Regions from separate parts of the Homo sapiens genome. Here region 2 is linked to region 1. The links are contacts of gene promoters, found by promoter capture Hi-C in blood cells and fetal thymus (Javierre and others, 2016). All regions are on one chromosome and are shown on one strand. Each heading gives the region's core, a stretch centred on a gene start or on the middle of the fragment in contact. The rest is flanking DNA. Distances are from core to core; before and after follow the strand shown. Region 1 holds the start of GRTP1-AS1 (GRTP1 antisense RNA 1). Region 2 overlaps MCF2L (MCF.2 cell line derived transforming sequence like).

Region 1 (5,893 bases), core at 2,268-4,767:
CCATGAAAGAATCAAAACTGAAGCCTTTGCAAGGGGAGAACAATGATCGTAATTCACTCAGCAGATATTCACGTGCCTAGCTGGCTAATAAGAAAATGGGCATGAAGGAGCAGATGCGCTCCATGAAGACTCGCGGGACAGGGAGAGGCGGCCTCTGTTGCCGGTGCGCTTCGCACCGGGCACTGTTCACGCGGCCTTCGGACGCAGCTGCGCTCATGAGGCCGCACACCAGGGCTTCCTTTTTTGTATCTGGTTATCATAATTGCTGGACTCCCTTCTCCTCTGATTTTTCTCAGTAATCACATAACCATAGGGTCCCTGGCTCTCAGAAGTTCAGAGTGCTAACAAAATTGATTAACCTAAGGCCGGGCGCGGTGGCTCACGCCTGTAATCCCAGCACTTTGAGAGGCTGAGGAGGGCGGATCACCTGAGGTCAGGAGTTCGAGACCAGCCTGCCCAACATGGTGAAACCCGGTCTCTACTAAAAATACAAAATAGCCGGGCGTGGTGGCGCATGCCTGTAATCCCAGCTACTCGGGAGGCTGAGGCAGGAGAATCGCTTGAACCCGGGAGGTGGAGGTTGCGGTGAGTTGGGATTGCACCACCGCACTCCAGCCTGGGCAACAAGAGTGAAACTCCATCTCAAAAAAAAAAAAAATATTGGTTAACCTAAATTGAATAGATTTTTAGAAAGTACATCTGCCCTTCTGATTTTAACAGTTTTTGAGAAATACACATTTAAACACAATATACTTAATTTTAAAAAACCCAGTGGCTTTAAAGTGCTGAGAGGTTAGAAAGACGGGACGGGGAGGACATGGTGCATCCTGCTGCCCTTCCTGGGGGTCTCCTGTCCACGGGGCTGAGCCAGTGGGGAGGGGGCTCCCAAGGCTGGGAGCTGGGGCTGCCAGGGGAGAGGCTGCATCCTGACCACAGAGTGATGGCCGCCAAAGGTCTCCAGTGCACAGCCTGGCGGCCAGAAACGCTGATTCAGGGTGGGAAGAGGAGAGCTTGGGTGCAGTGGGTGGGGGTGCATATTAAAACAGCACTGCTGTCTGAAAAATGCATTTAAAGTCTCTGTTTTGTGGTTTTTTGGATGAATTTTTTTATTTTTTATGACAGGTGTCAGTCTGTTACCCAGACTGGAGTGTAGTGGTGCGGTCACAGTGACAGCTCACTTCAGCCGTGACCTACCAGGCTCAAGCGATCCTCCTGCCTCAGCCTCCTGCGTAGCTGGAAGTGGTCTGAACCACAGGTGTGCACCACCACACCTGGCTCATTTTTTAATTTTTATTTTTTTGCAGAGATGGGGTTTTGGTCTTGAACTCCCGGGCTCTGAGGATTCGCCCTCCTTCACCTCCCAAAGTGCTAGGGTTACAGGAGTGAGCCACCCACCTGGCTGAATTGTTTTTTAAATTATGGTAAAATATGCCTAATATAAAATTTACCATTTCATTTTCCCAAGCTGAAGCTCTTGGGAGCTTCCCCATTGTTAAGCACTGAACCCCATGTCCTCACCCAGCCCCTGGCAATCCCGCTGTGCGCTTGTCTCTGTGCCATCCCCATTGTCAAGCACCGACCCCCGTGTCCTTGCCCAGCCCCTGGCAGTCCCACTGTACGCTTGTCTCCGTGCTTTGGCAACTCCAGGGTCACATAAGAGGAGTCCCGTGGGCTGCGTCCTCTGCAGCTGGGGTCCTTTCCCTCGCCTCAGTCCTCAGGGATCCTCTGTACTGCATCTTGTGTGACAATTTCCTCCTTCTTTAAGGGTGAATAATATTCCACGCATGGGCAGACTACATTTTGTTCATTTATCCATCTATCAGTGGACCCCTGGGCTCTCCTGCCGCACGGCTGTTATGGGTGGCATGGCCGTGAGCCTGGGTATGTGGATTCTGCTGGGTCCCTGCTTTCAGCTGTGGGTTCCTACCCAGAGTGTGGATTCTGCTGGGTCCCTGCTTTCAGCTGTGGGTTCCTACCCAGAGTGTGGGGCTGGGCCCCTGCTTTCAGCTGTGGGTTCCTACCCAGAGTGTGGGGCTGGGTCCCTGCTTTCAGCTGTGGGTTCCTACCCAGAGTGTGGGGCTGGGTCCCTGCTTTCAGCTGTGGGTTCCTACCCAGAGTGTGGGGCTGGGTCCCTGCTTTCAGCTGTGGGTTCCTACCCAGAGTGTGGGGCTGGGTCCCTGCTTTCAGCTGTGGGCTCCTACCTAGAGTGGACTCTGCTGGGTCCCTGCTTTCAGCTGTGGGCTCCTACCCAGAGTGTGGATTCTACTGGGTCCCTGCTTTCAGCTGTGGGCTCCTACCTAGAGTGTGGGGCTGCTGGATCCATGACAGTTCTGTGCTTAGTAATTGGAGCCACCTGGTCAGTTATCTTTCAGGAGCCATGCAGTGGATGGTCCAGTCCCACAGAGCCAATGCCAGGCCACGCAGTGCAGACAGAAAGCTCCCATGCTCTTCTGTCTCCACAATGGAGATGGAGCCATCTCCTTTCCCACAGGATGTTATCAAAACATATCAAGAAACTTAGTGTGGTGGCTCACGCCTGTAATCCCAGCACTTCGGGAAGCTGAGGCAGGCGGATTAGTTGAGCTCAGGAGTTCAAGACCAGCCTGGCCACCATGGCAAAACTCTGTCTTTACAAAACAATACGTAAATTAGCCCAGGCATGGTGGTGTGTGCCTGTAGTCTCAGCTACTCAGGAAGCTGAGGTGGGAGGATCGCTTGAGCCCTGGAGGTCGAGGATGCAGTGAGCCGTGATTGCACCTCTGCACTCCAGCCTGGGTGACAGAGTGAGACCCTGTGTTAAATATATATATAAATATATATATATATATAAAATATATATAAATATATATATAAAATATATATAAAAATATATATAAAATATATATAAAATATATATAAATATATATAAATATATATAAAAATATAAAAATATATAAATATATATAAATATATATATAAATATAGAAAACTCAATAAAAATATTACATATAAATGAACACAGCTGGTCACTCTAGTCTGAAATAGCAAAAATACTAACTTCCCCTTGACTGATTCCATTTTTTGGAATGTTTAGAATTCCAGAAAAAAAAAAAGGCTCTTTTGTAAGAAAACACACAATGAGAAATAATGTGCTCTGAGGCATTGAACTAATGTTGGCCCAAATCTAGTTTTTTGTAAGCAAAGATAAGGCCTGGGGCCAGAGGTCGGAAACAGACTTACAGTATTTTGCAGCCGTTGTGGAGAGACCACAGGCGGTTGGGTTCCTCCAGAGCTGGGTGTACACCCATCTCAGCGTCATGGCTGGCGGGGACTGCTGTGAGTCCATCTTGGAACTTGTGCAGAAAGCGGCTGTCTGCTGGTGACCGCATGGGGTGCCTGGCGAACACCTCTAACAGAGGTAGGGCCAGTGGGAGCAGAAACCAGTGGAGTTGTCAAGCCGGCATTATCCTTCCTGCTCGGCTTGTGTCCAGGGTTAACGCGGAGGTCAGCTTCAGTGAGGCCTGGCACTTGGTCAGCGTGAGGCTTGGTTAGTCTCAGGGACCCACGTGGTATCCGGGTCCCCCAGCACTAAACAGCTTGGCCAAGGCCACACTGTCCTGCCAAGAGATGCCTGGGCGGGACAGTGGGAGGGGTTGGTGCTGAGGAAGGAAGAGGCCGGCAGGGATGCCTCCTGCACACACAAGCTGACAACTCGAGGTTTATTCAGTTCTCAGCTCTCAGCTCTCAGCCGTGTCCTTTATCTCTGAGGAGTCTCAATTTATTCTGTCTCCTTCTGTTTTGGATCTTTGAAATTAGGAAAACACCTCAAAGTTTTGTGTGCATTTCTCTCCACCTGTCACCCTGGGTCCTCGAGGCAGAGTTGCCTCCGCTACGCGCGAGGTCCGAGGTGCAGGAGGCCTGTGCTGGGGGCCGGGAGGAGACGGGCATTGAGGAGGGAGTGCCATGGCCTGGCCACCAGCTCTGGGGTCGCTCTGCTGTCCCTGACTCTGCGGGAAGGACGGTTAGGGCCCCTCTCCGCCCCGAGTTCAGGATCACCCCCTCCTTCCTGGCCCAGTGAGCCTGTCGCTCTGGCTGTGTTGAGTCTGCTGTGCGGCCAGGGTGAAAACCAGTCCGTAAGTCCCAAGTGGAACCCAGGTGGCCACCCTCGGGGCAGCTGGAGGGGTGGGAGGCTTGTGGAACAGAAACCCGTGGGTGATTCCTTCTGAATTTCCCACAGACCTGAACCGGACCTTCCCCGACAACGTGAAGTTCCGGAAGACCACGGACCCCTGCTTACAGAGGACCCTGTACAATGTGCTGCTGGCATATGGGCACCATAACCAGGGAGTGGGCTACTGCCAGGTGAGCCTCGGGACCCTCTGACGCCATGAGGTGGCTGTGAGGACAGGTCTGTCCACAGCTGCAGGCTCGGCAGTGACGGCCTCACGTCTCTGTCAACCCTGTTCATGAATTCCACGTCCTGATGCCCCATTGAGGCTCGGACGCCATTTCCCAGCAGGGAGGACAGGGAGCAGCAGCCGACGACCTCATTCCGGCCTCAGGTGGCGGGAGGAGAATCAGCACGGGACACAGAGGGCGAGTGCTGTGGGGTGCGTGCGCTGTGGGGTGTGTGTGCTGTGGGATATGTGTGCTGTGGGGTGTGTGTGCTGTGGGGTGTGTGTGCTGTGGGGTGTGTATGCTGGAAGGCATGTGCACCATGGGGTGTGTGTATGGGATATGTGTGCTGTGGGTGCGTGCGCTGTGGGGTGCGTGCGCTGTGGGATGTGTGTGCTATGGGGTGCATGTGCTGTGAGGTGTGTGTCGTCCTCTGAGGCCACTCCCAGAGTGTCTGCTGTCTACACTGTCATCCCCTGGCTGGCTCCGTGGTGTGAACCAGCAGCTGCAGTTGGGAGAGTCCTTGCGCCTCCCGGAGGCCACCTAGCTGGGCGCATATTAAGGGCATTGCTGTTAGTAACTAGTGGAGTGAACAGGCCGGAATGCAGGGCAACCAGGAGCCGTGCAGTCTCCCAGCCTGTGTGTCCTGCCTGGGCCTGTCGCTGGTGGTGCTGTTCCAGTCTGTCTGAGCTCGCCGAGGGCAGGGCAGGCATCTGGGCAGGGCTGGCCTCCACGAGGGTTTCCAGGTGTGCGCACAGCCCGTGACTGCCTGTGAGTCCCCGTGGCTGAGAGCCTGGAGCCCACGGCTGCCACCGGGATTGGAGAGTGCGTTCCTGGCATTTTAGGCCATGTGCTTCACGGGCTCCTAGGGGTTGTGGCTGGCTTAAACGTTTCTAGGAGGACAGGGAAGGACATCGTCGCGATGGGTGGTTCGAACCTAGCAGTCCCAGTGATGCCCCCAGAAACTTCCTGTAGGAGCCGGGAGCCAGGCGTGCACCAACCAGAAAATGCAGTTTGAGTGAACGTTTGGAGGAGTGTGGAGCCCCTGCCTGGACAGCCCTGGGCCTGGCACCTGGCAGAGTGAATGCTCCCGAGGAGAAAGGGTGGACGTTGCGTGAGGAGCGCCCTGTGAAAGGCCAGCAGCAGAGCCACGGGACCACGCTGTCCTCACCAGCTGTTCCACGTGCTGTGCGTGTGTGGCTCTGTAGCTGGCTGGCAGTGCCGTGTCGGGTGAAGCTGGGAGAGTCCCTCCTTTGCAGACAGAATTCCTGCCATTCCTCACTTTTATGACTGTCCAGGAGCAAGAACGTGGCCTTCTGGAGTTGAGGTAGAATGGGCAAGAAATCCTCTACATCATTCTATTTACTGCTCCTTTGTGTTTTAAAAACAGCTTTATTAAAATGCATACACCAGCCTGGGCAAGGTGGCAAGACTCCATCTCTACAAAATATTTTTAAAAATTAGCGGGGTGTGGTGGCACACGCCTGTGGTCCCGGCTGCTCGAGGGGCTGAGGTGAGA
Region 2 (5,893 bases), core at 909-3,408, 340 kb after region 1:
TCCACACCGCCTGTCCACCATCCACACCGCCTGTCCACCGTCCGCATCACAGTGTCCACCGTCCACACCGCCTGTCCACCGTCCGCATCACAGTGTCCACCGTCCACACCGCCTGTCCACCGTCCGCATCACAGTGTCCACCGTCCACACCGCCTGTCCACCGTCCGCATCACAGTGTCCACCGTCCACACCGCCTGTCCACCGTCCTCATCACGGTGTCCACCGTCCACACCGCCTGTCCACCGTCCGCATCACGGTGTCCACCGTCCACACCGCCTGTCCACCGTCTGCATCACAGTGTCCACCGTCCACACTGCCTGTCCACCGTCCACACCACCTGTCCACCATCCACACTGCAGTGTCCACCGTCCACACCACCTGTCCACTGTCCTCATCGCAGTGTCCACCGTCCTCATCGCAGTGTCCACCATCCACCCAGCCTGTCCACCGTCCACACCACCTGTCCACCATCCACACCGCCTGTCCACCATCTGCACTGCAGTGTCCACCATCCACACCACCTGTCCACCGTCCACACCACCTGTCCATCATCTGCACTGCACTGTCTACCTGCTGGCAGCCCGCAGTGCCTCTGGACTCTCTGGGCCAGGACAAACTCTAAATATTGTCCCTCAGATCAAATGCCTCATTTTGGGTATGAAAAGCAGGGATCCCCCTGTGTGTGATCAGAAACTGCACACAGCTAAGCCCTCATACAAATAAACTCTAAAATATCGCTACATCTGAAGTGGTCACTGGCCACTCTGTGAACCTGAAGAGGCCTGTGGATGCTCTCTGACCCACACCAGAGTGTTGGCCTTCTTCCGTTCTTCATGGAGGCCTTCTGCAGGCGGGGCCCTGGGATTTTCAGGGCGCTGGGCGTTTCTTCCATTTATGTGTGTAAGTTTTCATTCTTCTTGATTTTTTGAACCCACTCAAGAATGATGGGAAAATCTGCCCTTATGATCATAGTTTCTTTAAAAGTTCCAGTCTACTTAATTTTGCAGCCATAAGACTAAGAAGCGCACGGAGGAACAATAGTGGCCACTCAGTTCAGGAGACAGGTCCCCAGAGGAGATGCAGGCAGGCGAGCATGGCCTCTGTGGGGCTCTGTGCTGTCAGACGTCTGGGAGGTGGTGGGCCCCTGACCCGTATGTGCCACCCAAGGCCAGGCCAGGCCCAGCTCCCTCACTGAGCCCTGCTCCAACCAACTCCCCAGTGATGACCCCACTGCTCAGAGGCAGGTCTGAGAGGGGAGGGTTAGGGCCTCACATCTGAGGCCCGGCAGAGGCTGCCCCGTCCATTCCCCTGCCACGCGGGCAGAGGCAGCAGGTGGGGCCGACGAGGGGGTGGCCAGGCCTGCCCCTGCCCATCCCCAGCACCGACCACAGCAGCCCCACCTGGGAGGGCCAATCTCTTCTGGCCACTACGGGGACGACGTGGTGAGATTTCCCAAGCGTGGGAAGGGCAGAGGTGCCCTTGGCTCACCTGATACACAGGTGAGGCCCCACCACTGACTTTTCCTCACAGAAACAGGGTCCTGGCAATGGCAGTCCAGGGAGGGGGACCATGTGTCTATCTTTAGATCTCTTTGTTCCAACAAAACCAGACGACTGAAGCAAACTTCCTTCCTCTTGCAAGTTGACTCAAAAGCTTGCTTTATTTGAGGACAATTTCATCCTGAAAACCAGGAGCGGGGTGTTGCGGGGTGGGAGGGCGGCCAAGACGTCTGAGCAGTATCCCAGGCACCCCTTCCAGCCCAGGGTGACCTCGAAAGCAGCAGAGAGAACGGGGACTGGAGGCGGGTGGGCCCTGGAAATCCTCTCATGGTGCGGGTGGGGGGGGTATGGGGGGTGGACTGTCACAGGTGGAGGCAGCAAGGCAGCTCCTGGCAGCAGGAAGAGGCCCAGGTGCAGCAGGAAACCCCGTCCCTGGTGCTCACTGGTGACCGTGGGCAGAGGAGAGGACAAGTCTCTCCACACAGCAGCCTGGGGCCATGGGGTACAGTCCATCTTTTGCCAATTGTCTTCTTTTATTTATTCTGGCAAAATGCCCATTCCCAAAGGCTTCTGCATCCTGTCCATCAGACAGGACAGTCGTGCCTTTTCAAAGTCCAAGGCTGAGCGTCAGATGGGATTACGTCACCAGATCATCCGGCCAGAGGCCTTCCCGAAGCCCATCCTTGAGGATCTCCAAACCCAGGAAGAACAGGGCCACAGAGCAGGGCAGTAAGAAGAAACGCAGGCCACAAAATCGGAACAAAATCTAAATTCAGTAAGGAGGATGCTTGAAACCACAGCCTTCAGATAAGGACACCCCAGGAGGCCAGCATCCCCGTCCCCTCCAGACAAGCTCCTGACACTGTGTGGGTCAGGGGATAAACAGGACACCCTGGGGGCCAGCGCCCCGTCCCTGCCATTGGGACAAAAGGGGCGTCCACACCTCTGTTTGTGATGTGTGTTAAAGGATCTGTTTGATTTTGCATTCCCGATGTTTAAGGTTTATCCTGACTTGGTTGGCAGAATTCTCACTTACATTAAATCTCAAATATGTTTAACGAGCCATTTGCTAGTGGGTTAGGTATAAATATTTCATGTCACATACACAGTGACTTAAATCACATGGTTCACTAAATATTATTTTTCTGATCTCAGAAAGCTTAACCTTTACACATTTTAAAAATACAAGGCCCTGCCAGAAAAGATGGTCAAAAGAAGCGGTGATCAGGGAAACCCCGCTCCTACCGCAGGGGCGTCATCTCAGACGCGCAACACCAACCGGCAAGGGCCAGGAGCCGGCGGACTCCCACGTGGGGGGCAGGTGTCAGTGCACAGCCGCCCCGCAGAACCCTCCGGACGCCCTTTGGAGTGAGACAGTTTGCGCCTCGGGCAGGGAGGACTCGCACATCCGCACTTGGCCAATCTCCTCTGGGGGTCGTCTCCAGAGCTTCGCTCTCCGCTCTCCACGCTGCCTCGCCCGCCCGCCCGCAAGCCCTGGGGGCCGTCTCCAGAGCTGCGCTCCCTCTCCACGCTGCCTCGCCCACAAGACCTGGGTTCTCTGATGCAGGCGGGCGTAAGAATCCCCTGGAGCGTGTCCTCAGCACACATGGGTGTGTTGTTTGGGACCAAGCTCCTGCCTAGACCCCAACAGATCAGACTGAAAATCAAAATGAAGTCCCCACACTCCAAGGGAAACTGAGTTGTTATCGGACCTTGGAGAAAACAGGAGACAGAGGAGAGGCCAATCTTCCAACCAGGCCAGGCTCTGTCTTCCTCGGCGTGGTCACGGAGGTCCCTCTTTTTGTTGTTCTTGCTCTCAACTTGTTTAATATGTAAAAGGACAATCAAAACAGTGGTCAGAATTTCCACTTTTGATACATTCTTAGGATGCAGCCCATCCAGAGAGCATCACTTCAAATAGATGAAGAATTACCCAACTTTTTCTGTCTTAAAGACAGTTTGCTTAGATTTTAAAAAGACTTAATTCCATGAGTTACGGCACTGAATTTAACCATGAGAATTAAATATAAAAACATGGAGGCTCTGAGCTGCCCGCAGAGGTGGGACTCCTATGAGGGTGACTGCTGGAGTCCAGGGGCTGAGACACAGCCACTCACAACATTACCGTTCCCCTGTAACAAAGGGTTAAGACTTTATCATAACTTAATTATACATTCATTATGGTGCTTTAAAACAGTCAAGCCTAAATAAATTCTTCACACTGCCAAAAAGATACCCGTACTTGGCCGGGCACAGTGGCTCACGCCTATAAATGCCAACACTTTGGGAGGCCAAGGTGGACAAATCACTTGAGGTCAGGAGTTCAAGACCAGCCTGGTCAACATGGCGAAACCCCCTCCCTACTAAAGATACAAAAATTAGCTGGGCATGGTGGCAGGTGCCTGTAGTCCCAGGTACTCAGGAAGCTGAGGCTGGAGAATCTTTTGAACCTGGGAGGTGGATGTTGCTGTGAGCTGAGATTGTGCCACTGCACTCCAGCCTGGGTGACAGAGCGAGACTCCATCTCAAAAAAAAAAAAAAAAAAGAAAAAGAAAAGATACACATACTAAAAACCCATTTAAGCACAAAGTTTGTCACGTGACGGCTCTTGGTCTGGGCCACACGTGTGTGCAGGGATCTTCTGCTTCTTCAAGCTTGATGTAAGTCCGGCAATCACCTAATGTGAAACTGATCCTTACGACACAGAGCCGCCTGAAGTGGCCAGTGGGTCACGTCTCTCCCGCCGACTCCCCAAGCTTACAAAGGACAGTGACTGAGGCCGCCGAACCGCGTTTGCACAGTTTCTGCTTTCCTCAGCCCTGTCTGTACAGCCGGCCCCGCACTGCGTGTTTCACTGGAGCTCTTAATTCTAGTTCATGGAATGCAGTGCTGCCCCACTCTAGAATCGCCAACAAAGCCCAGTGAGATCTTTAAATTACACGGATTGCAATTTGATCTTCTGGCAGGTATTTCCTCTTTCTCCGCCTCACGGTGGCCACGGCCCACTCAAGTGATTTCAGAACCACAACGCAGGGGTCTCAAGGTGAGGCTCCCAGGTGACACGGACGCTGGGGTCAGGGGTTAGACCCCCGCTGTTCTCAAGGTCACACTGTCTGAGCCAGGGGCACCAGGAGGGTCTGTCATGCAGGGGGGCACTTGCCTGCTCACCAGCTTGCATTTTCATGAACGTTTCCTGACATCAGTAAAATGGCCTGAGTGCAGTTTCAGCCAGGTGGGCCTCAGCATCCACCCTACACCTGGCGGGCTCTGCACGGACCCTGGATCTGTGTGCACTCATGCCCTGGCTGGGGTGTAGTCACACCATACACACAATGGCTTCTGAGCTAGAACAACTTAAAAAATCAAGGGGCAGAGGGACCAGAGACCAAAGTGACTGAGAGCCACTGTCTGAGAGACACAGGAGGCCGGGTTTCAGGATGAGGGACGCAGGTTCCTTCCAGAGTTCAGAGACCCTGACCCTGCCACCCTCTCCCCCAAGGGCCGGGCTGGCTGCCGGCTTTGCCACCTCCGGTCACAGCCCTACCCGCTACACAGTACCCATGGCTCCGCTGCCTCCCCACACCCCGCCACAGACCTGGGCCTGCCCTTGGGGGCTGAGCCAAACCTCCGCACATGTGAGGCTCCAGGCCGAGCCTCCTGGGCCAGATGCTCGGGGCGTTCTCAAGTGACTGCTGAGTGGGCAGGGCTGGTGGCACCCGCAGGGAGCATTTCCACAGGGCCCAGACCCGAGGGTCTTCAACACCTTAGTGTCTCCCGCCAGCCCCCACTGAGATGCACACGTCTCCCTTTCTCTCCTGGAGGCCGCCCAGGGTGCGCCTGCTCTCCCAGCCACTGCCTGCCAGCGCCTTTCCGGTTCAGAGGCAGCTGAGCCCTCACATGGACCTCCTGTCCGCAGGAGGGGTCGCACTGGCAGCTGCACCTGGAATGGCTAGGGGTCCAGGGAGAAAGGGCATGCCAGGGAGACCCCCTCGGGGTTCAGATGAGGACCACCCTGTGCTCCCGGGGGGAGGATCAGGCCAGAAAGGCAGGTTTCCTACTCACACCTGGCTCCAGTGCATTGAGTGAGTCCTCGCGAGGACCTAGGGAGCATGAAGCCTCATCATCCTTGTTTTAAAGACGGGGAATTCAAGGTCAGGCTCAGCTGTAAGCAGCCCAGGACTGCAGGGCAGGCAGTGCCAGGACTGAGCCCACGCCGTCTGCTCCAGCGCCTGGGACCTTCACTGCCACGGGCTCAACAGCGAGGCTATGGAGAGGCTCTCGCAGAGGGGCTGGGAGGGTGCCGACATGCGTCTGTTTCCAGGCTGATGGGTGAGTGAGACCCCAGTGGCTGGGACAGGGCAGGCTTGTGGGCAGGAAGGCGGGGACATGGCAGG

The links. The method cuts DNA at HindIII sites, captures the fragments that hold promoters and counts their contacts. A CHiCAGO score of 5 or more calls a contact.
Region 2: a fragment that was not itself captured here is called in contact with the fragment with the promoter of GRTP1-AS1 in region 1 in 1 of 17 cell types (M2 macrophages); the score reaches 5.2 in M2 macrophages.

What each region holds. Positions count from the first base shown.
Region 1 is chr13:113,349,297-113,355,189 of GRCh38, reverse strand. It overlaps GRTP1-AS1 (GRTP1 antisense RNA 1), which reads right to left and starts at 3,517. Exons shown (of 2, transcript NR_120385.1): 1 at 3,220-3,517. GRTP1 (growth hormone regulated TBC protein 1) reads left to right here. Exons shown (of 8, transcript NM_024719.4): 4 at 4,217-4,341. RefSeq lists enhancers at 4,296-4,956, 4,957-5,617. The HindIII fragment of the contact is 10,625 bases long and covers 1-5,893 here.
Region 2 is chr13:113,006,068-113,011,960 of GRCh38, reverse strand. All of the region lies in intron 1 of MCF2L (MCF.2 cell line derived transforming sequence like), which reads right to left. It overlaps LOC107984591 (a long non-coding RNA gene), which reads right to left. Exons shown (of 2, transcript XR_001750037.2): 2 at 1,625-5,893. Among named protein-coding and RNA genes, the nearest start is that of MCF2L, 40 kb to the right of the region's middle. The HindIII fragment of the contact is 1,005 bases long and covers 1,656-2,660 here.